5 separate regions of the Homo sapiens genome follow, and all the other regions are linked to region 1. The links are contacts of gene promoters, found by promoter capture Hi-C in human tissues and cell types (Jung and others, 2019). All regions are on one chromosome and are shown on one strand. The core of a region is centred on a gene start or on the middle of the fragment in contact, and the rest is flanking DNA. Distances in the headings are between cores, read along the strand shown.

Region 1 (6,099 bases), core at 1,819-4,318:
TTTTTAACTTGTGTTTTACGAGTTGAGTTAATATGAGAGGTCGTCTAGCACCAGATCACCCTGGACACCTTGGATAAAAAGTTTCTGGACTTTTCAGTTGAGGACGTTTATTCCTTTCTCAAATTTCTTTTTCCACATCACCCCTAGAGTGATCATTCTCAGATTTGGGTCAGATATCACTCCTTGGCTTGAATTCCTTTACTTTACCTCACTCATCCTCAACTCATATATCTTATAGGATAAATTATTTCTAAAAAATACTATTTATTTATTTATTTATGACAGGGGTCACATTATGTTCTCCACTCTGGTCTCAAACTCCTGGGTTCAAGCAGTCCTCCTGCCTCAGCTGCCCAAAGTGTTGGGATTACCAGCGTGAGTGTGAACCACGACGCCTGGCCGAGGATAAATTCTTTAGCCTGGTATTTGAATCCATGCCTCCTTCCTCTGTTCTCCTTCTTCCTCCCCTGCCCTGGTTTCATTCCCTTTAAACTCTCCATCTCCCATCTTAATGTTAATGAATTACTTGTTGATGCCTGAACATACCCTTTTATCTGTTGCTCCCTGTTGTTACACATACTGAGTTAAACATCTTTCCCTGCCCCTTTTTACCTGAGAAACTTCCTGTTGATCCTCTGGAACTCAGGTCAGAGTATATACCTCCTTCTGGAAACCTTCCCTGACCATTCCCCAATCTGGAAAGATGTCCTCCTTCTGTGCTCTGTAACTTTCTTTTTTTCTTTTTTTTTTTTCAGGGTGTCTCTGTTGCCAGGCTGGAGTGCAGTGGCGCCATCTTGGCTCACTGCAACCTCCACCTCCCGAGTTTAAGCAATTCTCCTGCCTTATCCTCCTGAGTAGCTGGGATTACAGGCACCACCATACCCAGCTAATTTTTATAATTTTAGTACAGATGGGGTTTCACCATGTTGGCCAGGATGGTCTTGATCTCCTGACCTCGTGATCTGCCTGCCTTGGCCACCTAAAGTGCTGGGATTACAGGTGTCAGCCACCACGCCTGGCATATTTATTTATTTATTTATTTATTTATTTAGAGGTAGAGCCTCATTCTGTTGCCCAGGCTAGAGTGCAGTGGCACGATCTCGGCTTACTGCAACCTCTGCCTCTTGAGTTGAAGCGATTCTCCTGCCTCAGCCTCCTGAGGAGCTGGGACTAAAGTTGCCTGCCACCACACCCTGCTAATTTTATATTTTTGGTAGAGATGGGATTTCACCATATTGGTCAGGCTGGTCTTGAACTTCTGACCTTAAGCGATCCGCCAGCCTTGGCCTCCCCAAGTTCTGGGATTACAGGTGTGAGCCACCACGCCCAGCCTCTGTGACTGTTTAACTCACTAATCCCCCTCTACTGTCTCTGTGTCCCCAGCATGCAGGATACGGGTGGAGCATCACCATGAATGGGCGTTTTGAAGCAACCTTCTCCTCCCCACTTTTCTCCCCCTAGTTCAGGCAGGTTAGATACAGGGAGGAACAGGTGCTATGGCTCCGAGAGACAATGGCTATAACCTCTAGGTAAACCTCCCCAAGGGAAACAATATTTGAGAGAAGTACCCAGGAGAACCTAGGAGAGAGCCTAGGCTCAGCCTTTGGGGAAGCCAGCTGCCTTCTACAGCTCTTAGTGGCAGCCTCCCAGAACAAACCGTAAGAGTACTTCCTTCTGGAACAATAATAATAATCCAGGCTGGGGGCTCATTGGCTCATGCCTGTAATCCCAGCACTTTAGGAGGCAGAGGAGGGCGGATCACCTGAGGTCAGGAGTTCGAGACCAGCCTGACCAACACGGTGAATCCCTGTCTCTACTGAATACAAAAAATTAGCCGAGTGTGGTGGTGCGCGCCTGTAATCCTAGCTACTTGGGTGGCTGAGGCAGGAGAATCACTTGAACCTGGGAGGCAGAGGTGCAGTGAGCCGAGATTACGCCATTGCACTCCAGCCTGGGCAACAAGACAGAACTCCGTCTTGAAAAAAAAAATCTGTAATATTTACTGAGTGATTTCCATGTTCCAGGCAGTATTCTCATTGTTTTACCTGTACTTGCATTTACCTTATGTAATTGTCTCAAAAACCATGACGCCAGGCACTTAGAGATTAACTTGCTCAAGGTCAAAAGTAAATGATCGTCAGGATTGAAATCCGAGCATTTTTTTCTAGAGCCCATGCTAGTGACCACTATACCTGTGTTGCCTTTCTGGCCTCTGATCTCCAGTTTCCAACAAAGACACATCTGCCTAGCTTCTATGGGAAAGGAAATCGGAGGGTCCTAGGACAAGGACCAATAGGTAAGTTTCCCTTCGCCTCCTCCCTATCCTCTTACAGGAAAACAGGTTTAGGGGTGGATCTGAGAGTTTTCACAGAGTGAAGAGGAAGAGGAGCTCCCAAATGGCAGGCGCCTCTGGAGGCTTCCAGAGAAAAAAGGAGAGAGCGTGGGAAAAGGGCAGGCTGGGAGGTGGGAGCGGCGAGGAACGGGGAGCTGACCACAAGCCCAGGATTCCAGACCAGGCTTATGTCTCTTAGACTCAGCGTAACCTTGGATAAGTCCTTGCTTCTTTCTGAGACTCAGTTTCCCCGTCTGTAAAATAAGGGTAAATATAAAACCGGCTCATCCGCCCCTGCCAAAAGAGAGGACAGGGAGAAGGCCCTGTCTGGGGTCTAGGCTGACACGCTGCAGCTAGGATTAGGTGAGCTTCCGAGCTCAGTCGTGAGACCCCATCCTCATGGCAAGGCCGCGCTAAGATCTCTGGACCTCTGCTTGCTGGGTGGGTGGTTGGGGGCAGAGCATGGGCCAAATGCCCGGCTCTGCAGGCTGCGCCCACTCTTCTCGCACCTCCTCAGCCCTCCCTAAAGGAGTCTCAATCCCGGGGGAGTGGCAGTTGCGGGCGACCAAGCAGTCACCGGCTGCGCTGCGGCGACCTCCCGGGAAGCTGCGGCCGGCGGGGTCCGAAGAGCATCACGTCATCCTTTCCCCCAGGAGCCCGCCCCCTCCCAGACGGCGCCTGCGCAGGCGCGGTAGGAGGAGGGTCACGGTGGGGGCTGTCCACGCGCTCTCCGCCCTTCTCCAGGCTCGCTCGGGCCGCGGCGCTCTCGGCTAGCTGCAGCGGCGGCGGCGCGGAGGGGAAGGCATCCAGGATGCGGTGCGGGGCGGCCCGGTGCCCCCCCGCCCCGTCACGGCAGCCGCGGCGGCCGAGGGGACCGGGCCAGGGCCGGGGGCGGCGGCCCGAGCCGCGGTAGCGGCGGCGGCGGGAGGGGCGGCCTGAGGGCGGACGGGCGGGCGCCCGGGTTGCGGGGGCTCGGTGCCGCTCCGCACTGCCCGGCCGGTCTCGGCCCCGGCGCCATGAGTGGCGGCGGCGGCGGAGGGGGCTCGGCGCCCAGTCGCTTCGCCGACTACTTTGTCATCTGCGGACTGGACACGGAGACCGGGCTGGAGCCGGACGAGCTGTCGGGTGAGTGCGCGCCGAGCCCGGGGCGCTTTCCCGCGCCCGCTGTCGTCGGGGACCCCAGAAGAAACCTTCCTTCAGCCCCGCTTTGTCCCGGGAGCCGGGCGAGTGTCGGCCGGGAGGACCAGGGCGGGCGCGGGCGAAGGGGGCTTTGGACTGGAGGGGGGAAACGGATGAGGGGCTCTGAGCCATGAGGGGTCCAAACCTACGGCCCGCTGCGCAGTGGCCACGTCTTCGGCGACCAGAAAGAGGGAGGGTTGTGTGTTCTCAGTTTGGTGTAGGTTGAGTGACTTCGTTTAAAATAAAGGAAAGCTTGTCCTCTGGCACCCATTAGGGAGGGAAGGCGTCCCACGTCCTAGTGAAAGTAAGTTCCACCCAGACTTAAAAAAAAGGAAAACAAAAACTTGGTGAGTTTATCTGGCCACTTCCCAAGAAGCTTGTGATACTAGTTCCTCAAAACCGTTATACCCCAGCCCTGGGCTGGGCCCCCTGAGTCAGATTGCAGCTCTGCGCGTCTGGATGGGATATGAAGTAATAAAGTGAACTTGGGCGGCACCAAGAAGAGTAGGAACTCCCTTAGCCTTGGAAAGGGCTTGTATCCCGGGGCCATGCCTTTTTTGAAAAGTAATTTATGTCCTTTATGAGGACAGAGGCGTTTGTGAATAAAAGGGTAGCAGCATTGTAGTTGGAGAGGCTTGGTGTGTTCTGATGCGTTTCAAGTCATATTTGAAAGGGAAAGTGATGAGGGGAGTCAAAGATGGGGCCCTGACCAGATTTGGCACTCACTGCAGAAGGCCGTGAAAATTATACAGTCCCCGTGAATTTTCCACTGCACTGTCATTGGAGTCTTTGAATTGTAACAGTTTTGAAAATAAGTTTTTGTCTGGAGTTTCCAGTTAGTGGGTTTCAAGTGGGTGGAGGTTTGTCGGGTTGTACTTTAAGGTTGTGTCATCCTGATGAGGGGGACTCCTTTTCACTTTTCTGTCACTGTAAAGTTTCTCTTTCGAAAGTGATTATCCTGTTGACTAATCTTACTCGGCTTCAACGATGACAAGACAGTTTTGTTTTTGGGCACCAGAAAAAGTCCAGTGTTTCTTTTTTTTTTTTTTTTTTTTTTTGAGACGGAGTCTCGCTCTGTCGCCCAGGCCGGACTGCGGACTGCAGTGGCGCAATCTCGGCTCACTGCAAGCTCCGCTTCCCGGGTTCACGCCATTCTCCTGCCTCAGCCTCCCGAGTAGCTGGGACTACAGGCGCCCGCCACCGCGCCCGGCTAATTTTTTGTATTTTTAGTAGAGACGGGGTTTCACCTTGTTAGCCAGGATGGTCTCGATCTCCTGACCTCATGATCCACCCGCCTCGGCCTCCCAAAGTGCTGGGATTACAGGCGTGAGCCACCGCGCCCGGCCCAGTGTTTCTTATGAAAAAAAAATTAGGCGGGGCGCGGTGGCCCACCACCCGGCGGCTCAGGGGTAATCCCAGCACTTTGGGAGGCCGAGGCGGGCGGGTCACCTGAGGTCAGGAGTTCGAGACCAATTTGGCCAACATGGTGAAACCCCCGTCTCTACTAAAAATACAAAAATTAGCCGGGCGTCGTGGCGCGTGCCTGTAATCCCAGCTACTCAGGAGGCTGAGGTAGGAGGATCGCTTTAACCCAGGAGGGGGAGGTTGCAGTGAGCTGAGATTGCGCCAGTCTGGGTGATTGCGCCACTACACTCCAGTCTGGGTGATAAAGCGAGACTCTGTCTGGGAAAAAAGAAAAAGAAGAAAAAAGCATGATAAATTCATGCTTTAACAAGGTTAGAAAAAAATGAGCTATTTCCTCAATAGCAGGTGGAGAAAATATGAAGCAGTAATATAATTAATATTAGGCTTTTTGTCGGGGTAGTTTTATGGTTTCTAATTTACTTTAAAAAAATTTTAGTTTTAGGCCGGGCGCGGTGGCTCACGCCTGTAATCCCAGCACTTTGGGAGGCTGAGGCGGGCGGATCACGAAGTCAGGAGATCGAGACCATCCGGGCTTACAGGGTGAAACCCCGTCTCTACTAAAAATACAAAAAATTAGCCGGGCGTGGTGGCGGGCGCCTGTAGTCCCAGCTACTCAGGAGGCTGAGGCAGGAGAATGGCGTGAACCCGGGAGGCGGAGCTCGCAGTGAGCCCAGATCGCGCCACTGCACTCCAGCACTCTAGCCTGGGCGACAGAGCGAGACTCCGTCCAAAAAAAAAAAATTATTTTGATGAGTACCTAATAATTGTTCAAGTTTATCTTTTAAGGTCTTCAAATTCTTATAGTACAGATGTTTTTCATCTTTTTCATATGTAGTAAGTTTGTGACTTTGATGTAATTTTTGGAATTCGGTTCAGGGTATTGGTGTTGGAAGGGACCTCAGAGGGGAAAATGAGGCCCAGGAAGGACAGTGGGGCCTGTATACACTAGTTAATTGCTTGGTCCAGTGCTCTTCTCATGACATTAAACTGCATCTCATTGGCCTGGCTGGAGGTCTTTAGAAAACACTAACATGTTGAGAAATATTAAAAACAACATAATTCTTCTCAGTAAAAGAAACTAAGGTGGTGGAATAAACTTTTTTTTATGCGTGTTTTTGAGTGTCAAATTGTATGAACACTTGGTTTGAGAAGATAGAATGTTT
Region 2 (5,516 bases), core at 2,797-5,296, 310 kb before region 1:
TATATATATATATATATATATATATATATATGTGTGTGTGTGTGTGTGTGTGTGTGTGTGTGTGTGTGTGTGCGCGCGCGTGCACGCACACACACGCACAAATATTTAGTATTAAATTTATGTTACATTTACTGGAGTCATCTATACGTTTTACTTTCTTTATAGGACAACTTATTTTGTGATGGTATTTGTAAATTGGAAGGTTTTTTTTTTTTTTTTTTGAGACAGTCTCGCTCTGTCGCCCAGGCTGGAGTGCAGTGGTGCGATCTCAGCTCACTTCAACTTCCTCCTCCCGGGTTCAAGCAATTCTCCTGCCTCAGCCTCCAGAGTAGCTGGGACTACAGGTGCCTGCCACCACACCCAGCTAATTTTTTGTATTTTAGTAGAGACGAGGTTTCACCGTGTTGTCCAGGCTGGTGGTGAACTCCCAAGCTTAGGCAATCCACCCGCCTCAGCCTCCCAAAGTGCTGGGATTACAGGCGTGAGGCACCACGCCCGGCGAATTTTTTTTTTCTTTTTTTGAGACGGAGTCTCACTTTGTTGCCTAGGATGGAGTGCAATGGTGCAATCTCGGCTCACTGCAACCTCCGCCTCCCGGGTTCAAGCAATTCTTCTGCCTCAGCCTCCCGAGTAACTAGGACTATAGGTGCGCACCACTACACCTGGCTAATTTTTGTAATTTTAGTAGAGACGGGGTTTCATCATATTGGCCAGGCTGGTCTCGAACTCCTGCCTCGTGATCTGCCTGCCTTGGCCTGCCAGAGTGCTGGGATTACAGGCGTCAGCCACTGCACCTGGTCTAAATTTGAAGATTTTTAAACTTCACATCCCTTAATATTTTCAACTTTTATACCTTATAAGGGTCTATTATATTTGTCTAACACTTTATATGAGTACAGCTATTCCTTAAGAATTCACATTTACTGCCTTAAATCCAAATATATTTTTGTCTTTTGAAAATAAAAAACATGCTGGGCACGGTGGCTTACGCCTGTAATCTCAGCACTTTGGGAGGCCATGGTGGGCAGATCACAAGGTCAATAGTTCAAGACCAGCTTAGCCAACATGGTGAAACCCGTCTCTACTAAAAATACAAAAAATTAGCCGGGCATGGTGGTGTATGCCTGTAATCCCAGCTACTCGGGAGGCGGAGGCAGGAGAATCGCTTGAACGTGGGAGGCAGAGGTTACAGAGAGCTGAGACTGTGCCACTGCACTCCAGCCTGGGCAACAGAGCGAGACTCCATCTCAAAAAAAGAAAAAAAGAAAGAAGAAACTTTAGTGACTTGTTAACATACGCATATGAAATTCTAGCATATAACTCATAAAGTTGTACAAAATGACTGAAATTCTCACAAATCAACAGGTTTCCAAAGATTAATAAAACCTCACTAAATTCATCTAGCCTAAGATGCTTAACTTGAATCCATAATCCTTAGTTATAACTTCCAATTTATAGGAAATATAGGAGAAAAAGGAACAAGCTAAATGATACAAGAAGCAACTAGTCAAATCCAGAAAAAGGGATAGCTTGCAAGATAAGTGTATATTATTTTTACAAAGCAGAGGATGGGTTCTGAAAAAGAAAAACTGATATAACCAGATGCAATGCATGATCCTTAAGTAGATACTAATTTGAACAAATCAACTATTAAGGACTTGAGTCAACTGGGGAAATTTTAATATGGTCTGGCCTAGTGGAAGAGTGGGGCTTTAAACACAGATTTTTAGTGCCCTCATTAGTATCCCACCTGTAGTTCCTGTAAGATGCAGCAAAAATTTCTGGCTTTTAATAAAAATGAATTTATCTGGGCATGGTGGCACATGCCTATAGTCCCGGCTACTCGGAAGACTGAGGTGGGATGACTGCTTGAGCACGGGATGGGGAAGTTGCAGTGAGCGGAGATGGTGCCACTGCATTCCGGCCTGGGCCACAGAATGAGACACTGTCTCAAAAAAGTTTATCTCAAATTTTGGGGATTAACAAGGGAAGAGATGAATAGAAATCATAAAACAATATTGGTAAGTGGATCTAAGGCCTTTTAAAACTAACAATGAGAAAACAGAAGATATATATTTTTTCAATGTTGTCATAATGAAGTAATTTATTCTCTATAACCCCAAAGAACACAGGTCAGAAGATCTGCAATACTTACTAGGTTTTATATCCATGTGAACCAAAGACATTGAATGAATATACCTCAAGCCTCGGCCAACTTGCAAAAGGAGATCCTTCAACTCTGCTTCTTTAAAGTAACTCATGATTCTGTAGTTTTCACTTATAGCATCAGCTAAACTTCCACCTAACAAAGATAGAAAATATTAGCATTTTCTTCTTTCTGAAATATTTTCTTTCTTCCATCTTTACCAAATGAGTCTCAACCAACCAATCTCAACCAAGAAAGTGTTATTTTATAGGACCTTCTCCCTTCAACCTGCTTGTGAAATCAAAATTTTATTGTTTTTTCAATAGGTAATACATTTGCATGGGTACAAAATAAAATGTAAAGTCTCTCTCTCAATCATACACCTCAGCAATCCACCTGTTTCTTTCTCAGAGTAAACCAGTATTATCAGGTTGGCTTTTTTTTTGTTTGTTTTTGTTTTTAATTTATAAGAGACAGGGTCTATCTATGTTGCCCAGCTGGAATCCAGTGGCTATTCACAGGCTTGATCCCACTACTTATCAGCATAGGAGTTTTGACTTGTGCTGTTTCCAACTTAGGCCAGTTTACCCCTCTTTAGGCAACCTGGTGGTGCCCCACTCCACAGAGGTCACCATACTGATGCTCAACTTAGATCGGCATAGATCGGCATAGATGCTCAACATAGATCGGCACTACAGCCTAGAATTCCCAAACCCAAATTCAAATTCCCTGCTTCAGACTCCCAAGCAGCTGGGACTACAGGCACTGCCACCACGCCCAGCTCAGGTCTATGTATTCTTTTCAACTTTTTGCATAAATAACAGCATATGTTCATTATCTTAAAGATCACTCTATACCAATATACAAAGACAACCCATTTCTTCTTGTCTTTATAGAATTCCATTGTATAATTGAGTAGAAATGCATTTATTGGCTGGGCACAGTGGCTCACGCCTGTAATCCCAGCACTATGGGAGGCCGAGGCAGGTAGATCACGAGGTCAGGAGTTCGAGACCATGCAGGCCAACATGGCGAAACCCCGTTTCTACTAAAAATACAAAAATTAGCTGGGTGTGGTGGCGTGCACCTGTAATCCCAGCTACTCAGAAGGCAGGAGAATTGCTTGAACCTGGGAGGCGGAGGTTGCAGTGAGCCGATATCGGGCCATTGCACTCCAGCCTGGTGGCAGAGTGAGACTCAGTCCCCCGAAAAAAAAAAAAAAAAAGAAAGAAAGAAAGAAATGCATTTATCAGTCCCTCATTTGATGGACATTTTAAAATTATTTCCAAGCCTTTGCTATTACATACTATGGCCTAATAAATAACCTTGTACATTGGTAATTTCACGTACATTTAGTATATCACCTAGAAGCCAAATTGCTGGGTTAAAGGGTATGCACATTTGTAATATATGGAGATGGTGTGTTTTACACACACACACACACACACACACACACTCTTCTCCACAGAGAAGGCTGTACCAATATATATGCCCATTGTCAATGCATGAGCATACCTGTTTCCCCATACCCTTGACAAGTCTATAAATGTTATAGGTAAAAAGACAGTATTTTAGTATAGTTATAATTTATACTACTCTTACTATGAATGAGACCATAACCTGCTTTTATAGAATTAGTTAAATCAATCAGTTAATTTGTTTATATTTTTTCAAACTTTTAAAGTTTGTATTTCATCTCAAAGGCAATGAGGAATTGTTTTAAATATCTCCTGTTTAAGGCTTAGGAATAAAAAAATCAGAGCTGGGTACTAAAATTAGGAAGGTCAATGATGTATTAGTCAGAAAAGGAGGTCCTATAATTTAAATAAGAAAATAACATAACGTCAAATGTGTTTTTAAAATAAATTATACATCTCGGTATCTTAGTCTTAAGTATGTTCTCCTTACTTGTACAAATCTTGAACTGAGGGAGGGGAAAGAGTGCTCTAGAAGGGAGCAAACCAATAACGCTGTCAGACAAGATAGGCTAAGTCCTAGATCAAATGTGCTAAGAAAGAATATGGCTAATTCTCTTTTTTAGCAGGTCCAGCAACCATAGCTGTGCCCATTTCTTCTCTTATTGCTAGAAGGGCAAGAAAGGTGATGAGAGCAAAACAGGTTCTGACATTTCAGGTTCTCTTTCCCTATCCATCAATATTTTTCTACACTTGTTTATACAGGTTAATTCCAATCTATCACCAAACCAAGATAAAAGGCTTATAATGCAAATGAATAAGATAATAAGGAAATTAAATCACAATAAAGGGAATCAGTTACTCATGTACAAATAAATATCAGAATCCTTTTCCAGTGAAACTGTGGAAAAGATGTGAAGATGAGCCCTATTGGTATATTCAAAGCTTTATGTGGAGAGAGGAACGGTGGACACAGGAAACAAAAGAGATCACAAATGCATCCAGATAGTCGTATTTTCTTTTATCTAAGTAGGACAAATAGCCACACAAAGAGGCAGTCCTGTTTCATGCAGGACTATTTATTTTCTTCAAGAGTTTTATATTGCTTTAAGAGGCCGAGGCAGGTGGATCACGAGGTCAGGGTTCAAGACCAGCCTGGCCAACATGGTGAAACCCCATCTCTACTAAAAATACAAAAATTAGCTGGGAGTGGTGGCGCGCATCTGTAATCCCAGCTACTCAAAAGGCTGAGGCAGGAGAATCGCTTGAACCCTGGAGGCAAAGGTTGCAGTGAGCAGAGATTGCGCCACTGCACTCCAGCCTGGGCGACAGAGCAAGGCTCTGTCTCAAAAATAAATAAATAAATAAATAAATAAATAAATAAATAAATAAAAACTTATTTTCAATAGATTATTTTATAATCTAACATTACAGGACAAGGTTTTTGTAATCTGAGAGGGTAGCAAGACTACTCACTCAGTTCCCTATCTCCCAGGCCCACGTGAGTTTTCTCAGAATCATCTGATTTACACAACCATGTATTGGTAGGTTGCTACATATTTGACATTCCTGGACTACTAATGAACTATTCTGTTAAGAGAATTATTCACATCAAGAAGGTGAGAAAGAGAAAGAAGGAAACTGAAAAGAGATGGTGTCTAACAAATATCAAATGGAGACGACATTGTGGTCAAGTTGTTCTAGGTTAAATGCAATACCTGAAAAATGAAGGTTAAGAAATAGAATAATCCATAAGGTTGTGATAGTTACATAAATATTTTGATGGTATGAATAGAAACATTTCAAGAGCTGTGTGAAAAAAACTAGCAGCAAGGCTGTATACTAGACACTCAAGTTCTTTCAAGTGTGGAGAACTTTATTAAATAATGAGGAATCAGGTTTGAAAAATGGATCTTTTACTTCTGTTTTGTTCACTGTTTTTAAATATGGGGAAC
Region 3 (5,324 bases), core at 1,336-3,835, 420 kb before region 1:
CTCATACCATCTATTAATTTGTTTTAGCCTCTCCACAGGGAGAATAGATATTATTGCTATTTTACAGACGAAGAGGCTGAGTCAGAGATTAGGAGATGTGTCCCAAATCACAGAGTTTTACGTGTAGCAAAACTGGGATTAGACCCAAGCCTCCCACTCTGGTGTCCTTTCCATGCTTTGCTACCTTCCCTCTGTTTCTGGAAAAACAGATAGCCCTGCCAATACAAAGATGGACACGCCCGTGAGTTGTTTCTAAATTTTAGTGATGTGCTGGTGCTACCCCAGCCCCACCCCATCAGCTCCACAGGGCCCAACAGAGATGACAGGCACTATTCAGCAGAGCCAAGTTAGTGCCAGTGGCAAGGAAGTCCACATACCTAGAAGTCTGGGACCGTTCTCTCTCTGGGAGCCCTCATCTCCCAGCACCCTATCCCTCTGGGGGAATCTGCACTAAGAGGCACTAACCCCTTCTCCAGATGAGGAAGCTGAAAAGCAGATTAAGACAAAAGAATCAGAAAGAGGACTACAAGTTCTTGATTTGTAAAAGGACTGCCCCAAATCATTCTAATCAGGGTGTTTGCAAGTTTCTTGAAAAAGCTGAATTTATCCCGCTTCAAATGCCTGTTCCTCCAAAGGCCATTCTTTCAGCACCCACATAATTGCTAAGCAGCTTTGCTCTCATTCTGCTGATCTGAAGAATAAACTATTGTTACCACAATAACAGATCCATATCCATGCCAGAAACTCATCTCTCCAGTTCCCTCATAGCTGTCTGCAGTTGCCTCTGCAGGGCCTCTGCTGACAAGATGACTAATTAACTGCATGAGCCCTGCTCGTGTGGTCTGTTCCTGTTCAGTGGTTTGCTTGCCATTTACCCCTTTTGAGCATTTTACTCCAGCCATCATGAAAATGAAATCAAGGATGGTGAACAGTGTTTTAACACGAGTAAGTAGTGTTCACCCTCCTTTCTCCAAAGACGTAGAGATTCTAAAAAGTTATTTAAAACGTGCCACCCAGTAACACACTGTTTCCCTTTACAGGATGTGCGTAATGGGCAAGATTCAACACTGAAAAAAAAGCGGAGTGGGGGCAGATTTCTATTCCAAAAGACTTATCTGAACTGACACAATTATAGACTTATAACTCATAATGGGCAATCTTTTTTTAAAACATTAAAATTCCTGTCTGATTTATAAAATTTCAAGCCAATGGCAAATTACCAGAAAATTCTTCCTAACAATGGACCAGCATGACCAATTTCCTACCACAGCTATGCCCTGCCTTAAAAGCATTGTCTACTCTAAGTCCTGCCCATTCCCGCATGGACTCATTTTCCCCTTCCAAACATCTTTTCATCCTGCTTGTCACTGCTTAAGTCTTGCTTGTTTCCTCTTACCTTTAATCTAACCAGCCTCAAAAATCTCAAAGTCATTGTTCACATTGCTCTCAATCCCTAAGTACAATCAGTTACCATCCTAGACACTTACACCAAATCTTCAAGTACCACTAACATCACGTTATCCCCCTGCCTAAAAATCATCAGAAGACTACAGAAGTAAAAGCTAAGGAAATATGTGAGTTGTATATTTAAGTCACTCCACAGGCCAGCCCACTTCACCTTCCTTATTTCTTCCCACCCTCTGCACCAACCATATAAATCCAGCCAAATAAGCTTACTAACTGCATCCCAGGCAACTTGTACCACATCCCTTTCTCCCCTGGGCCCTTGCTCAATTTACCCCTACCTCCTTTCCTGCCTAACAAAAATGGCATCTCTTTCTGAAGCCTTCACCACCCAAACCAAGATGATCTTTCTTCACTCTGTTTCCCAAGCAGTACCTCTTGTGCTAACTACCACACATGATTTCTCTCTCCTGTAAGACTGTACATTTCTGAAAGGCCCATATCTTATACAACATTGCATGCCCATGGCACCTGGCATGCTGCCCAGAATCCAGAAGACTTTCAATAACTGCTAAGTGAATTCTTTCTAAAAATTCTCTTAACACTAAAGCCGTGATACTTTAATATTAACAATAATCTTAGAAAATATACTATTTCTATCTCCTCACTTCACAGATAAAAAGACTGTGGCCTGAGACTTGGCCTAAGTCACACAATAATTAGCAACAAAGTAGGGACTAGAACTCAAATCTCTTAGCTCTCTGTCCCACAGTGATGCCCTGTGCTGGAAACATTTCTCTTCTGCCTAGTCACATCCTTCAAGATTGGGTCATTCATAAACTCTAGGAAATCTTTATGGATTACCACCCTGCCCCATGAACTCCTATTCAGCATTTAACTATGTTCTGTTTCAGATACTAATGGTATCTCAAATATCTAACTTATCAAATATCCTCCCTTATTGAAGGGAGGAAATAAATATTTTCCTTCTGCATCCTTCAGTGACTAGCATAGGGCTAAGCGAAGATTCAGTAAGAGCAGAACACTTACAGACAGATTAAGGAAAAGTAACTCAAAGTCATCTGTTGGAATGCTGTCCACAGAATATATGCCACTGATGTCATACAGCATGGATGGCACTGGATTACACTCTAACTGAACCACCTTTTTAAAGTTATTTTGGATAACTTACCAACTTACCCCTCTTCAGAAACTAAACAGAAAATACTGGTAAATTTGACCACAGAAAAATGCTTATATTTTCTTTTAAAAAGAAAGAAACCATAAAAAAACAAAAAAGGCAAATAGCTCCAATATTCAAATCATTCTTGTGGACACGAATAGAAAATTCACAAAAGAAACTAATCACTAATAAATAGAGGATACCTTTCAAGTTCAGGTGGAACTCCTGGGACCTTTAACTTTTGGATTGTATGGCTAAGGCATAATGTTGTTTGTTGTGTATTATATTTGGTATAACTTTTCTTACTGTTTCTCTACTAAGAATGCCTTTAAATATGGTTATTGTGATACTTTTTTACAAGGAAACTATATTTGAGCAGTTCCAAATTGTACATACTGTATGAACCTTGTCCTCTGAATGGGTTCCTTATTTCTACACGGAATTGCGTAGCTTGCAGTATCATGTAACTAAAGATTAAACCTCACCTTTTACTTCAAAAATAGGCAAATAAAATATAGGAAAAGATGCTTAATCTTGCTAGTAATCAAAAGAATGCACATTAAAAGAGCTACTACTTTTTGCCTAAGTAATACCTGGTGTTTGAGGAGATATAAGGGAGTAAAGACTACCAATATCCAACACTGCAGAAGGTACAGAGCAGGTTTTTCTCAACTTCAGTACTACTGACATTTTTGGCTGAATAATTATTTGTTTGGGGGACAGGGCAGGTAACCTACGCATTGTACAATGTATAGCAGTATCCTGGGTTAAAAACATTTAAAACATCTCAAATACCTGTGAATAGGAAATGGTTAAATAAAGCATGATGCATCAACACAATGAAAGAGTTCACAGTCATTATAAAGGATGGTGTCTGTATCTATATGCATTTATACAGAAAGATGACCCTAACACAATGCTTAAGAAGAGACTACAGGCCAGGCACAGTGGCTCTCACCTGTAATCCCAGCACTGAGGGAGGCCAAGGGAGGAGGATCACTTGAGCCCAGGAGTTCAAGACCAGCCTGGGCAACAAAGTAAGACCCTATCTCTACAAAAAATACAAAAATTAGCTGTGAGCCTGTGGTCCCAGCTACTAGGGAGGCTAAGGTAGGAGAATCAAATGAGCCCAGGAGGTTGAGGCTGCAGTGAGTCGTGATGGTGCCGCTGTACTCCAGCTCTGGCAACTGAGCGAGAACCTGTCTCACAAAAATAAATAAATAAATAAATAAATAAATAAGAAAATAAAAGAGGATACGAAAGGATACAGAATATGACCCTATTTATACAAAAGGACATATATGTCTGTGTATTTACATATGTGTATATGCATGTGTGTACATGATGGGGGAAGGGAGAAAGAGAGATATATAAGAAAGATATTCACTGAAAAGTTAATTACAACCTGCCTTTGGTGGTAGAATTTGAATGTTTTACTTTGGACTCTGTACTTTAATACATTGTTTGAGTATTCTATGTATTACCTTTCAATCAGAAAATGAAGCTTTTATCTTTTAATATTTTATATATTTTAAATAGAAAATTAAAAAATTAAGTAGGGTGGAGGGCTTGCTATGGTCTGAATGTGTCCCCCAAAATTCATATGTTGAAACTTAATCTCCAATGTGTCAGTATTAAGAGGTGAGGCCTCGCCGGGAGCAATGGCTCACGCCTGTAATCCCAGCACTTTGGGAGGAGGCCAAGGAAGGTAGATCACGAGATCAGGAGATCGAGGCCATCCTGGCCAACATGGTGAAACCCCATCTCTACTAAAAATACAAAAATTAGCCGGGCGTGGTGGTGTGTGCCTGTAGTCCCAGCTACTCGGGAAGCTGAGGCAGGAGAATTGCTTGAACCAGGGAGTCAGAGATTGCAGTGAGCAGAAATCACACCACTGTACTCCAGCCTGGGTGACAGAGCAAGACAAGACTCCGTCTCAAAAAAAAAAGAGGTGAGGCCTTTAGGTGGTGATTAAGTCAAGAGAGCGGAACTCTCGCAAATGGGATCAATGACCTTATAAAAGAGGTTGAAGGGAGAGAGTTCCCTAGTCTCTTTTGCCCTTCTGCCATGTGAGGATACAGCAACAAGGAACCATCTTGGGAGCAGACAGCAAGCCATCACCAGACACTCAATCTGCTAGCATCTTGATCTTGGACTTTCCAGTATCCAGAACTGTGATAAATAAATTTATATTATTTATAAATTACCTAGTCTGTGGTATTTTGCTGCAGTATCAGGACTAGGTGAAACAAGGCTCCTGCTAGAAAGCACCAGTAAAATTAGAAAATGAAAAGATCATTGTAGAACTATAAAGTTGATAAAATTAACTCCTCTGAGCCACCCACAAAGCATGCTTTCCCATACCTCTTTAAAAAGCCACCCTATGGAGGTTGTGGCAGGCCGAGATGGTGCTACTGCACTCCAGCCTCGGCACAGAGCGAGACTCCATCTCAAAAAAAAAAAAAAAGAAAGTCACCCTAATGGACAACAAAGTCCCCCAATTTGGGACAGCCTCCTGAGAGTCCAGCCCCCCAGTGAAATATTGCACAAATGTCTTTTAAGAAGGTAAATGATTTGTGAGGAGATTTAACTCCAGCAAGCTTCTTTATCTTTCTCACTACTCTGTAAGTTCCTTAAAGAGAGAGTCTGTATTTTAGCCATCTGTGCAATACGTATTTTAGCCATCTGTGAATACCAAAACCTAATGAAGTACCTAATGAGAGAGCTGTTCAACAAA
Region 4 (5,849 bases), core at 346-2,845, 360 kb before region 1:
GATCCTAAAAACAAAAAATATAGTTACCCTAAGACATGTCTTATCCCCAGTCAGAACATCAAGCTCATGGTTCTGCTTTTCAATTCTGACTCCAACCCTGACAAGGCCAAACAAGTTGAACTGATGAGAGACTATTGCATTAAGTATCCTAAAGCTGACATGCAGATTTTGCCTGCGTCTGAAGAGTTTTCAAGAGCTCCAGCCCTGGAAGTAGGATCTTCCCAGTTTAATAATGAATCTTTGCTCTTCTCCGGTGATGTCCTCGTGTTTACTACAGAATTCCTTTAGTGATGTCAAGCAAATACAGTTCTGCACCAACAAATACCTTTTCCAATCATCTTCAGCTAGTGTGACCCAAAGATTGTTTATAATGGGAAAGTTCCAAAAACAAAAACAAAACAACTTTTTTTTTTCCAAGACAGAGTCTCACTTTTGTCGCCCAGGCTGGAGTGTAGTGGCGTGATCTCAGCTCGCTGCAACCTCCATCTGCCGGGTTTAAGCGATTCTCCTGCCTCAGCCTCCAGAGTAGCTGGGATTACAGGTGTGCACCACCACACCCAGCTAATTTTTGTATTTTTAGTAGAGACAGGGTTTCACCATCTTGGCCAGGCTGGTCTCGAACTCCTGACTTCGTGATCTGCCTTCCTCAGCCTCCCAAAATGCTGGGACTACAGGTGTGAGCCACCATGCCAAGCCAAAAACAATTGTTTTTTTTTTTTTTTTGAGATGGAGTTTCACTCTGTCTCCCAGGCTGGAGTGCAATGGTGCGATCTCGGCTTACTGCAACCTCTGCCTCCCGGGTTCAAGCAATTCTCCTGCCTCAGCCTCCCAAGTAGCTGGGATTACAGGTGCCCGCCAGCATGTCTGGCTAATTTTTTGTATTTTTAGTAGAAACAGGGTTTTGCCATGTTGGCCAGGCTGGTCTTGAACTCCTGACCTCAGGTGATCTACCCACCTCGGCCTCCCAAAGTGCTGGGATTAGAGGCGTGAGCCACCGCACTCAGCAAGGTCTGCCATTTCTTGAGTACCTGTTACTTATTATTATTCATGTCTATCAGGAGTATGTTTAGTATGTTTTATTTGCAGTAAATCGATCTCCAACGATTTCCTTTGAAAATGCTTTTTCCCCTCCTTAACTTTTACATTGCTTCCGTTTTACTAAATATTAAGTGTTCTTTGACAATTTTGGTGCTCACGTCTTTTGGAAACAAAAGTGAAGTGAATCTGTCATTATACCAGAAAGTTTGCTTGTTGTCTCAGATCAAATGTGCCTGAATAAATTTTTTTTTCATTTAGATTTCAAACAGTGATAGACTTGCATTTGAATATACATCATTGGAGATCTGCTTATTTGTAAATAGCCTGTTGCTCATTTGGAAAAATAAACCAGTGAACAATATATTCCTATTGTACTTTTCAGAACCATTTTGTGTCATTATTCCTGTTGTAGCTGAACAATTGTATTACACTTGGAGAGTAAAAGACTTGAACACAAAAAAAAATAATAATGGCTCCCAATTTATAAATGATATTACCATGTGTTGGGAAAGACTGAAAGAGGAGGAAGTTTGGAGGAAGAAATCAAGAGTTTTATTTTGAACATGTTAAGTTTAAGATATTTATTAAACATGCAACTGGAATTGTGAAGTTTGTATGTAGACTGAGTCTGGAACTCAGATAGGATATTTAATCTGGAGATAAAAATTTGGGAGTTATCAGAATATAAACAGTATTTAAAACTATGGGATTGAGGATCTCGTCAAGGGAAGGGTATAGATAGAGGTGTAGAATTTCCATATTAGTTTTTCAGTTTTTTAATTTTTTATTTTTAAAAGCTTTTTGGAGAGACAGGGCCTCACTATGTTGCCTATTCTGCTCTTGAACTCCTGGCCTCAAGTGATCCTCCCGCCTTGGCCTCTAGAGGTGCTGGGATTAGAAGTGTGAGCCACTGCGCTGGCCAGAACTTCTACATGTGGAATTCAAGGAGAGGAGGAGGAGCTGTAAAGGACAACGAGAATGAGTTTCAGGAGAGTGTGCGGTCAAGCAGAGAGTGACGTTTTAAGAACAGTGTGGTCAGTTATATCAAAAGCTGACAATACACCAAGTAAGATTAAGACAAAGAAACGTCCATTGGATCTGGCATCCTAAAGATCACCAGTGACCTTAACCGTGGTGGTTTCTGTAGGGGGGTAGGGGACAGAAACCAAGTATGAGGTGGTTGAAGTCAACACAAGGAAGTGAGCTTGTCTCCAAAACCCCCTTTGCTTCAAACACCCAGGCATGATATTTAAAATATAAAAATGATTTTTTCCAAAAAGACACAGTTGCACTCTTATATATCTCCATGATATGTAATCCAAGATATATATATATCTTATGTATCTCCATGAACCAGAAATAGAATGGAAACACGTTAAGCTAAGTATTTCCTTAGGCTGAAGTCTCAAGCTTGTGGGGCTCTAAGTCTGGAAGTTGGACACTAGCAGCTGGATGGGGGTTTAGCAGGGGAGTAGGGGGCTAAAGCACTCCCCACAAGGTGGGAGACGGAGGCTTCCAGCTTGATACCAGAGGCTGAAGTGAGCTCCATCGCTTGTGAAAAGAAGATGAAGATAATAGCAGTTAACCTATGGACTGAGACTTTATTAGAGACTAGAGAGATGAGGAGCAAAGAGAACACCTCATTACCAGAAATTGTCAAGCTGTCTGCTGGACCCATAACTAATATCTAGGGATATTAGTTATCCCTAATATGCCACATCCCTAATATCTAGGGATAGAAAAATCATAATCCTAAGCTTTGACTCTAGTTTGAGGCCCAGAGGGCCAGCTGGAGCCCTCCTGGAAAGGAATGAGGGGAGAGTAAGAGAGAGAGAAATCAAACAAAAATGAATACTTTCTCACGCTAAAAGACCTTTCAACCATAATTACAAAACAGAAAGATAGCCTTTGAAATTAACAATCAGACCAGAAATTTTCTCAAATTTCCTTTGGATTTTAAAAATGTTCAGAGATGAATGCATAACTTTCATTTCAAAATGAAATTATTCAGCAAAAATAGGCAGAAATGAAACAGTATGAGAGAGAACCAACTGGAAATCCTTGAAATAAAAAAAATACACTAATTGAAATTTTAAAGGTCATAAGTGGGAGAAACTCTAGATTGAACACACTCAAACAGTAAATTAGGGAATTGGAAGACAAAACTGAGGACTCATTCAGAATATAGCACAAGATAAACAAAAAACAGCAACTAAAAACATGGAGAACAGATTACAAGATTCAAATATTTATAAAATAATAAGTGTTCCAGAGAAAGATAATTAGATGGAAAAAGCAATATTTGATGAGAAAACTACTGAGTTTTTTCCCCCAGAATTGAAGAAAATGCCCTATAAATGGAAGAAATTTACACCCAGCCAAATTACCATTCAAGAGTGTTGGGGGTAGGAAAAAAAAGATTCCGCATATAAAAACTAAAAGATTCTTAACACTTACAGGCACCTTATGAAATAAACGACATATATATATCACTCACACACATGCGCGCACACACACACACACACACACACACACACACACGTTTTTTGAGACAGGGTCTTTCTCTGCCTCCCAGGCTGGAGTGCAATGGTGTGATCTCAACTCACTGCGACCTCCGCCTCTTGGGCTCAAGCGATTCTCATGCTTCAGCCTCCCAAGTAGCTGGGATTATAGGCGGGTGCCACTGCCGCCGGCTAATTTTTGTGTTTTTAGTAGAGATAGGTTTCACCATGTTGGCCAGGTTTCCCAACATATATTTAAAGTCTGGGCGCAGTGGCTCATGTCTGTAATCCCAGCACTTTGGGTGGCTGAAGCAGGAGGATCGTTTGAACCCAAGAGTTCGAGATCAGCCTGGGCAACATAATGAGATCCGCCCCCCCCCCCCCCAATCTCTACAAAAAATATCAAAATCAGCCGGGCATGGTGGTATATGCCTGTGGTTAAAAAAACAAACAAACAAAACTGAAAGATACTCTCAAAATGTAAGAGAGGACCTATTACTCCTTTGCTCAGAATCCTCTAGTGCTTCTCATGTGACTCCGAGTAAATGCTAAAATCTTTACAACAGCCTACAAGGTCCCAGGGGGTGGCAAACTAAGGCCGGCCAGCAAAATCCTTGTATGGCAAGAGGGAAGAGAGGGCTTTCACACTTTTTTCAAAAAGAGAAAGAATATGCGATACAGACCACATGTGGCTTGCAAAGCTAAAAATACTTACTATCTAGCACTTTACAGAAAAGCTTGCTGACCTCTGCCCCCAACAACTCGGCCCCTTTGTGATGCAGGGTTCATCCCCTAGCCTGACTCCTTCTTTCTGCTCACAGAGCTCCAGGCAGACTGGCCTCCTTCTCATTCCTTGCAGTTTCTTGCAGTTTTTCCAACCAGCCAGGCACGCTTCCGCCCGGAAATCATGGAGGACAGGAAAAGCATGAGGAAAAGGAGGACAGGAAAGGCATGAGGGGGCTGTTCAATAGTGATAAAGTCGTGGGTCAATGTCTTGAAATGTAATAAGGTCAAATAATTGTAGCACGGTGATTCATTTTCTATTGCTGCCAGTTTCTCGCAGTTATTCCAAAGAGCAGGCACGCTTCTGCCCTGCCATTTTCTGCCATTTTCTCTGCTGGGAATGAATGTTCTCCCCGCAGATAGCTGCACAGCTAATTCCTTCTCCCTTGGGTCCTCACTTAAAAGCACCTTCTCAATGAAGCCTTACCTCACCATGCTAATTAAGGATCATTATCCCTCTGCCTACACTCCTAACTCACTCTGCTTTCTTTGTTTCATAGCACATATCACTAACATACATGTTTTAATTTTTATTGCTGTTGTTTTTTTTTCTATATATTTCCTACTAGAATATAAACTGTTCCTGGTGCATAGTGGCTGCTCAATATGTATTTCTTGAATGCCCGTATGGGTCATGAAAGCCATCACATCCCTCTGTTTTCTATACGGCACTTGTCACTAGCTGTAAATGCCGTATTTAGGGATTTTGTCCACAAACTTCATGAAAGGGGGGATCACAGGATGACAGTCAACATATATCAAGTATCCAGTGTAATATTGATTCAATGACTACACATTCCATACATCTTTCAAAAGAGTGAATGGGAAGGGAGGAGATAGACACACAGTGAGCCAACAACTTTTTCAATAATGTTTGCTGTGAATGGGGGCAAAGAAATTGGATGGTGGCTGGAAGAGGACATGGGGCCAAGAAGGTGCTGAAGATGGGGATCCAGCAAGTAATTCCGATGGACACATATGCTAATATCATAGGAAAGAGGAGGTAATTAAAGAAGCAGGGTTCTTGGAGAGGTGAGAGCAATAGGGTGCAGGGACAGGAGGAGAGAGTGGCCGATAGTGGGCAGAGATCTGTCCTTCCACTGTAACAAGAGGGAAGAAGGAACAGTCTCAGGCAGGGTTGCAGCCTCGTGGGAGGGAAGATGAGGGAGTTCCCATCTTCTGGCCTCTGGTTCCTCACTGAAGTGTGGGAGGTAATATTATCTGCTGAAACTGAGGAGTGGAAGTACATGGGAGGTTTCAGAAGAGAGGACAGACAATGTATAAGAAACACAAAGGAACTTTATTAGGGAAATGGAAAAGGACAGGCAGCTTGGCAGTTATTAAGGGTTATTTAGGGGCTCTAACATGAATTTAAATGAAAGCAGTAGGCTCGATTTGGTGATTTTTTTTCTTGAGCAACACCAGACTCCTTGGTTACCGGTGCGAAGAAGACTGTCAGGTGCGATCAGGGTGATTGTAGCAAAGCAGTGGTTCTCAATGTGTGGTCCCTGGACCAGCAGTATCAGA
Region 5 (5,445 bases), core at 445-2,944, 340 kb before region 1:
AACAAGAGCAAAACTCCGCCTCAAAAAAAAAAAAAAAAAAAGAATGGACTCAGACAAGTTGTTTCTCCTTATAGGGGTAGAAATGGCTGCAGTTTTTAAAGATTTTACATCTTTGCACTAGACTTCAATCTCACTTCAAATTACTGGGCTTCAATCTGTTTGGGTCAATGTTTGTCATAGATTCACTCCAAAGCAACCCCTGTGACCAGAGAAAAGTCAACACACAGAGGAGGGTAGAGCTGGCTTGGGCCATTCCCTGACCCAAACACTGGGCCCGGGGATGGGATTTTTCTAACTGATTTAGGACACGCCCCTGAGGCTGGAAGTGAAGCCAGTCCTACCTAAAGAGCTCCTCCATAGAGAACAGTGTGTGAATGGATGGGAGACCGACTACAGAGTCCATGACAAAGACATATCCACCCAGGGGGTCCAGGAGACCACTGTCTACTTCTATTCTGACTTAGGTCTAGTTATCCCTCTCCTCACCAGGGCCAGGCCCTGCAGAGGCTCACCAAATTTCTGTTGGGAACTTGGTGCATACCAAGCTATAGGCATAGCCTAGGGCCTTGGTCTGCACAGCGTGGAAGCCAAGTCAATCCTGGTCTCTTTTAGTGCCTCTTCAATCAGCCCCATGATGCCCCCAACTCTTCCTGTCATCCTAGGCTGACTCCCAAAATGCAAGTGAATCCGACAGTGGGCCTCTCCTACACTCTCGGGATGATGCTGCCCTCTGTGTTTCCGGCTATTACTACAGCGTCCTGAGCCTGTATCACCTGGAACCTTGGTTCATTTACAGATGGGAGCTCCCTCCACTTTCTGCTTTAACTGAAACCTGGCTGAGGACATGGCATGAGTCCTTGCTAACTTCATCAAGATAGCCTCCCTACCATGTGACAAGGAGGAAGGTGGTCCACATGCCCCGTCCTCACTGCCTCTTTCACATCACCACTGTTTTTGGGCTCCTTTCCTCGGCACTTCCCCTACATTCACTGAGGACTTTGGCCCCTGACTCACAGACTTCCCAGGAGAAATACTGCCATCATCCTGGGTGATTTAGTGTCCCTGCGGATAACACCTTCTATATCTTAATCTTAAAGTCTCTAACCCCCTTGTCTCCAATGACCTTAGCCCTTCTTACTGCTCAGGCCACGCATCCCCTTGGTCACACTCTGAGCCTTGTCATCACCTAAAAGTAATACTCTGACAAAATCCGATTATCCAAACATAGGCACCTGTTCTTACAGCTCCCCCTTCCTTATCTCATTACATCTGTGTCCCCTTAAACTTCCATCTTCTTTTTTTTTTTTATGGTGAAAAGATATATATATGTATATTTAGAATTAGGCATCTGGACTCAGTTTAGATGATCCCAATTTTGTTGACAACATCCAAAGCATCGTAATCAGGAGCCAGTCGAACATATGCCTTCTTCTCTCCATCAGGCCGAATCAGGGTGTTGACCTTGGCCACATCAATGTCATAGAGCTACTTCACAGCCTGTTTAATCTGGTGCTTGTTGGCTTTAACAACCACAATGAACACAAGTGTGTTGTTGTCTTCTATCTTCTTCATGGCAGACTCAGTGGTCAGCGGAAACTTGATGATAGCATAGTGGTCAAGCTTGTTTTTCCTGGGAGTGCTCTTCCGAGGATATTCGGGCTGTCTCCGGAGTCGCAGTGTCTTGGGCCGCCGGAAGGTGGGTGACGTGTGGATCTTTTTTTTGTGGCTGTGGACACCGTTCAACACTGCCTTCTTGGCCTTTAAAGCCTTCGCTTTGGCTTCAGCTTTAGGAGGGGCAGGAGCTTCCTTCTTCGCTTTCGGTGCCATCTTGTGAAAAGGCCTTCCATCTTCTTGACATCACGTAGTGCTGAGCAGTGTAGGGAAAGCTCCATTCCCCTGTAGACTGGCGCCAGGGTCTTCAACCCCTTGACATCTGGGTTCTCTCTCTATTACACCACTGAAGCCACTAATGTTGCCAGGGACTTCCTTGTTGCTAAACTCCAGGGACCCCTTATCTTCTTAGTCCTCTAAGTCCTTATCTTTTTAGTCCTCTTCTCTATGTTGACCACTTCTTCATTCTTGAAATCCTCTTCTCCTGCGGCCATTAAATTGCCGGTCACCCATCATTTTCTTCTAACTCCTCAAATGCGCTTTCTCCTTTTTCTTCACTAATTCCTTTTCTTCCCATTAGCCCCATAAATGTTGCTTTTCCCAGAGCTCTGTCTTGGTTTACTTCTCCTTTCATTTTACAAATTCTTGGATTATCTCACTCATACCCAGGGTTTCAACAACCACGCAAATACCAATGATGTCCAAACCTAAATTTGGGGCCTTGATTGCTCATTGGGTATTGCCACTAGCATGCCCTGCAGGGGCCTTAATTTCAGCATTTCCCAAATTGAACTTTCTATTCTCTACCCTAAACTCTGTGGGACATGACAGACTGTATGGCCGGGCACAGTGGCTCATGCCTATAACGCCAGCACTTTGGGAGGCTGAGGCGGGTGGATCACTTGAGGTCAGGAGTTCAAGACCAGCCTAGCCAACAAGGTTGAAACCCCGTCTCTACTAAAAATACAAAAATTAGCTGGGCGACATGCACCCATAATCCCAGCTACTCGGGAGGCTGAGGCAGGAGAATCGCTTGAACCCGGGAGGTGGAGGTTGCAGTGAGCTGAGATTGTGCCACTGCACTCCAGCCTGGGTGAGAGCAAGACTCAATCTCAAAAAAAAAAAAAAAAAAAAAAAAAAAGACAAAAAAAGACCAACAGATGTCACCTCCCTCCAGACAGAAAAGGAAATTTGAATAGTACTCATCATTACTAATTTAAGATGTATTAAAATGTCCCAAATATCTCTTTTATTCAGCAAGTTGATGAATATAAAAATATTTATAATCTTATTTTCTCCTTCAAGTCCTGAGTGGCTCAACTGTGAATTCTCCTCCCACAGATGATTTCAGGAGGACATGCTGTGCCTTGGCCATTGGCCCACCTTGTATTGGCCATAGACACGAATCATGGAGTAGACAGCAATTGTCTTGTAAGTGGGTGCAGTGTATTTGTTTGCATGTTTAGAAATGTATTTTGCTTTCATGCAGATATTAAGCATACTATAAGAAGAGGCTGGCCAGGTGCAGTGGCTCACACCTGTAATCCCAGCACTTTGGGAGGCCAAGGCAGGTAAATCACATGAGGTCAGGAGTTCCAGACCAGCCTGGACAACATGGTGAAACCCCGTCTCTACTAAAAATACAAAAACTAGCTGGGCGTGGTGGTGGGCGCCTGTAATCCCAGCTACTCAGGAGGCTAAGGCAGGAGAATCGCTTGAACCTGGCAGGCAGAAGTTGCAGTGAGCTGAGATCGTACCACTGCACTCCAGCCTGGGTGACAGAGCGAGACTCTGTCTCAAAAATAAATAAATAAATAAATAAATAAAATTAAAGAATTAGCCAGGTGTGGTGGCAGGTGCCTGTAATCCCAGCTACTCCGCAGGCTGAGGCACGAGAATCACTTGAACCTGGGAGGCGGAGGTTGCAGTGAGCTAAGATCGCGCCACTAAACTCCAGCCTGGGTGACAGAGCCAGACTCCATCTGAACCACAAAAAAAAAAAAAAAGAAAAAAAAAAGAGAGGCTGAGTCATGTGTAAAGCTGAAAACAGATATGAGACCCAGCGTGTCCTCTGAAGACACTCCAGGAGGGTCTTATATCACCTTTTGAACTGTGGGCTCTTACCAGGCAGTTCCAGGTCTTATGTAAATGGACTGAGAATTTTCTAGAAAGTGAGACACCAGCTCTGGTAATGGAGCTTCCAAAACTGGCTAGGGGAAAAGCAGTCCCTATTGACACAGTGCCTCCTGGGTGCCACTGTGATTGAGGGATGCAAGGTAATCTGAGGTCTCAGGATGAACAAAGTTTTGGATAACATTAATTTAACCTACTCAGTTTGTCATCTGTTTTCTTGGTGTGTGGTGCAAGAAACAAAAACCTAACCAACTACTTCAAGAAGGAAAAGCGGGGGTTGAAGCTGGTTGGAAGGATAATTGAGTGTTTCAAGTAGCAACTAAACCAGAAGAATACAAGGGAAACTCTGATTTGGGGCCTTGGTCAGATACGAATGGAACCAAGGATTCAGTTCTCTGGTTTCCTCTGCATGCTGCCTTCAGCTTTCCCCACCATTGCCTGAACTCCTCAGTGTGACTGGGTGCCATTAGCTCCCTGGCCTCATTCACATCCCACCTGCCACTGGCAGAGAGGGACTGGTCTATTCTCACTCTGCTCTGCGAAGGGACTTTGGCCTGGCTTGGCTCAGAGGGAGACCCCCAAACTATTGGTGGTTGGGCTGTGAAGAGATCTGATGAGACCTCTTGATTCAAGTCTGCCACTGGACCAATTAGCTATATGCCATGGGGACAGGGTCATATAGTACAGACCTGGTCATTGGGCACTCACCCTATGTAACAAGGACAATTTCCAGGGTAGAAGGATGTGTAAGAATATTAGAATTTGGGGCCGGGCACGGTGGCTCACGCCTGTAATCTCAGCACTTTAGGAGGCCGAGGCGGGTGGATCGTCTGAGGTCAGGAGTTCAAGACCAGCCTGGCCAACATAGTGAAAACCCGTCTCTACTAAAAAATACAAAAAATTAGCTGGTCGTGGTGGCAGGCGCCTATAATCCCAGCTACTCAGGAAGCTGAGGCAGGAGATTCGCTTGAACCCGGGAGACGGAGGTTGCAGTGAGCTAAGATCGCGCCACTGCCCTCCAGGGCAACAAGAGCGAAACTCTGTCTCAAAATAAAAAAAAAAAGAAAAGAAAAGAAAAGAAAAAGAATATTAGAATTTGGACTGCAATTAGAATATTAGAATTAGAATATGGGCAGCCACCCTAGTGGGGATTACTACATCATTGCTAAGTAATTTTTTTTTTCTTTTTTTCTTGAGACAGAATCTCACTCTATCACCCAGGCTGGAGTGCAGTGGCACGATGTTGGCTCACTGCAACCTTCACCTCCTGGATTCAAGCGATACTCCTGCCTCAGCCTTCCGAGTAGCTGGGATTGCAGGAATACGCCACCACATCCAGCTAATTTCTGTATTTTTAGTAGAAATGGGGTTTCGCCATGTTTCCCAGGCTGGTCTCAAACTCCTACACTCAAGCCATCTCCCTGCCTTGGCCTCCCAAAGTGCTGGGATTACAGGGGTGAGCCATCATGCCCAGCCGCTAAGTGTTTTTCAATTCTTTCCCACAACACAGTCAAATAGCCTTAGTACGTTGCCCATGATAATGAGGTCATGTGCCAAAACACGTAAGAACATGGCTGAGACCTCTCTCCTTGCTCTGTCAGTCCCTCAGGCCCCTGGGCTGTCCTCTGTCTCCTGGCTTCCAAGGCCTCAGCCCCTCTCCCAGGCTGCTTGCAAAAGTGTCTACCCAAACCCTCCCTCTGT

The links. The method cuts DNA at HindIII sites, captures the fragments that hold promoters and counts their contacts. A contact is called where the count stands out against the background at its distance.
Region 2: a fragment that was not itself captured here is called in contact with the fragment with the promoter of DENND5A in region 1 in 1 of the 25 tissues and cell types used here (lymphoblastoid cells).
Region 3: a fragment that was not itself captured here is called in contact with the fragment with the promoter of DENND5A in region 1 in 1 of the 25 tissues and cell types used here (hippocampus).
Region 4: a contact is called between a fragment that was not itself captured here and the fragment with the promoter of DENND5A in region 1, in 1 of the 25 tissues and cell types used here (pancreas).
Region 5: a contact is called between a fragment that was not itself captured here and the fragment with the promoter of DENND5A in region 1, in 1 of the 25 tissues and cell types used here (liver).

Annotation. Positions count from the first base shown.
Region 1 is chr11:9,262,319-9,268,417 of GRCh38, reverse strand. It overlaps DENND5A (DENN domain containing 5A), which reads left to right and starts at 3,068. Exons shown (of 23, transcript NM_015213.4): 1 at 3,068-3,457. The coding sequence starts at 3,349. RefSeq lists enhancers at 2,767-2,836, 3,917-4,036, 4,197-4,536 and silencers at 3,117-3,216, 3,267-3,626. The HindIII fragment of the contact is 15,544 bases long and covers 1-6,099 here.
Region 2 is chr11:9,578,318-9,583,833 of GRCh38, reverse strand. WEE1 (WEE1 G2 checkpoint kinase) reads right to left here. Exons shown (of 11, transcript NM_003390.4): 6 at 2,156-2,302. Among named protein-coding and RNA genes, the nearest start is that of WEE1, 7.4 kb to the right of the region's middle. The HindIII fragment of the contact is 3,154 bases long and covers 2,470-5,516 here.
Region 3 is chr11:9,684,848-9,690,171 of GRCh38, reverse strand. The region is part of intron 1 of SWAP70 (switching B cell complex subunit SWAP70); the gene reads right to left. Among named protein-coding and RNA genes, the nearest start is that of SWAP70, 23 kb to the right of the region's middle. The HindIII fragment of the contact is 4,108 bases long and covers 532-4,639 here.
Region 4 is chr11:9,625,541-9,631,389 of GRCh38, reverse strand. No RefSeq gene overlaps it. Among named protein-coding and RNA genes, the nearest start is that of SWAP70, 36 kb to the left of the region's middle. RefSeq lists an enhancer at 4,278-4,327. The HindIII fragment of the contact is 3,883 bases long and covers 1-3,536 here.
Region 5 is chr11:9,602,524-9,607,968 of GRCh38, reverse strand. It overlaps the pseudogene RPL23AP65. Among named protein-coding and RNA genes, the nearest start is that of WEE1, 32 kb to the right of the region's middle. The HindIII fragment of the contact is 6,349 bases long and covers 1-4,868 here.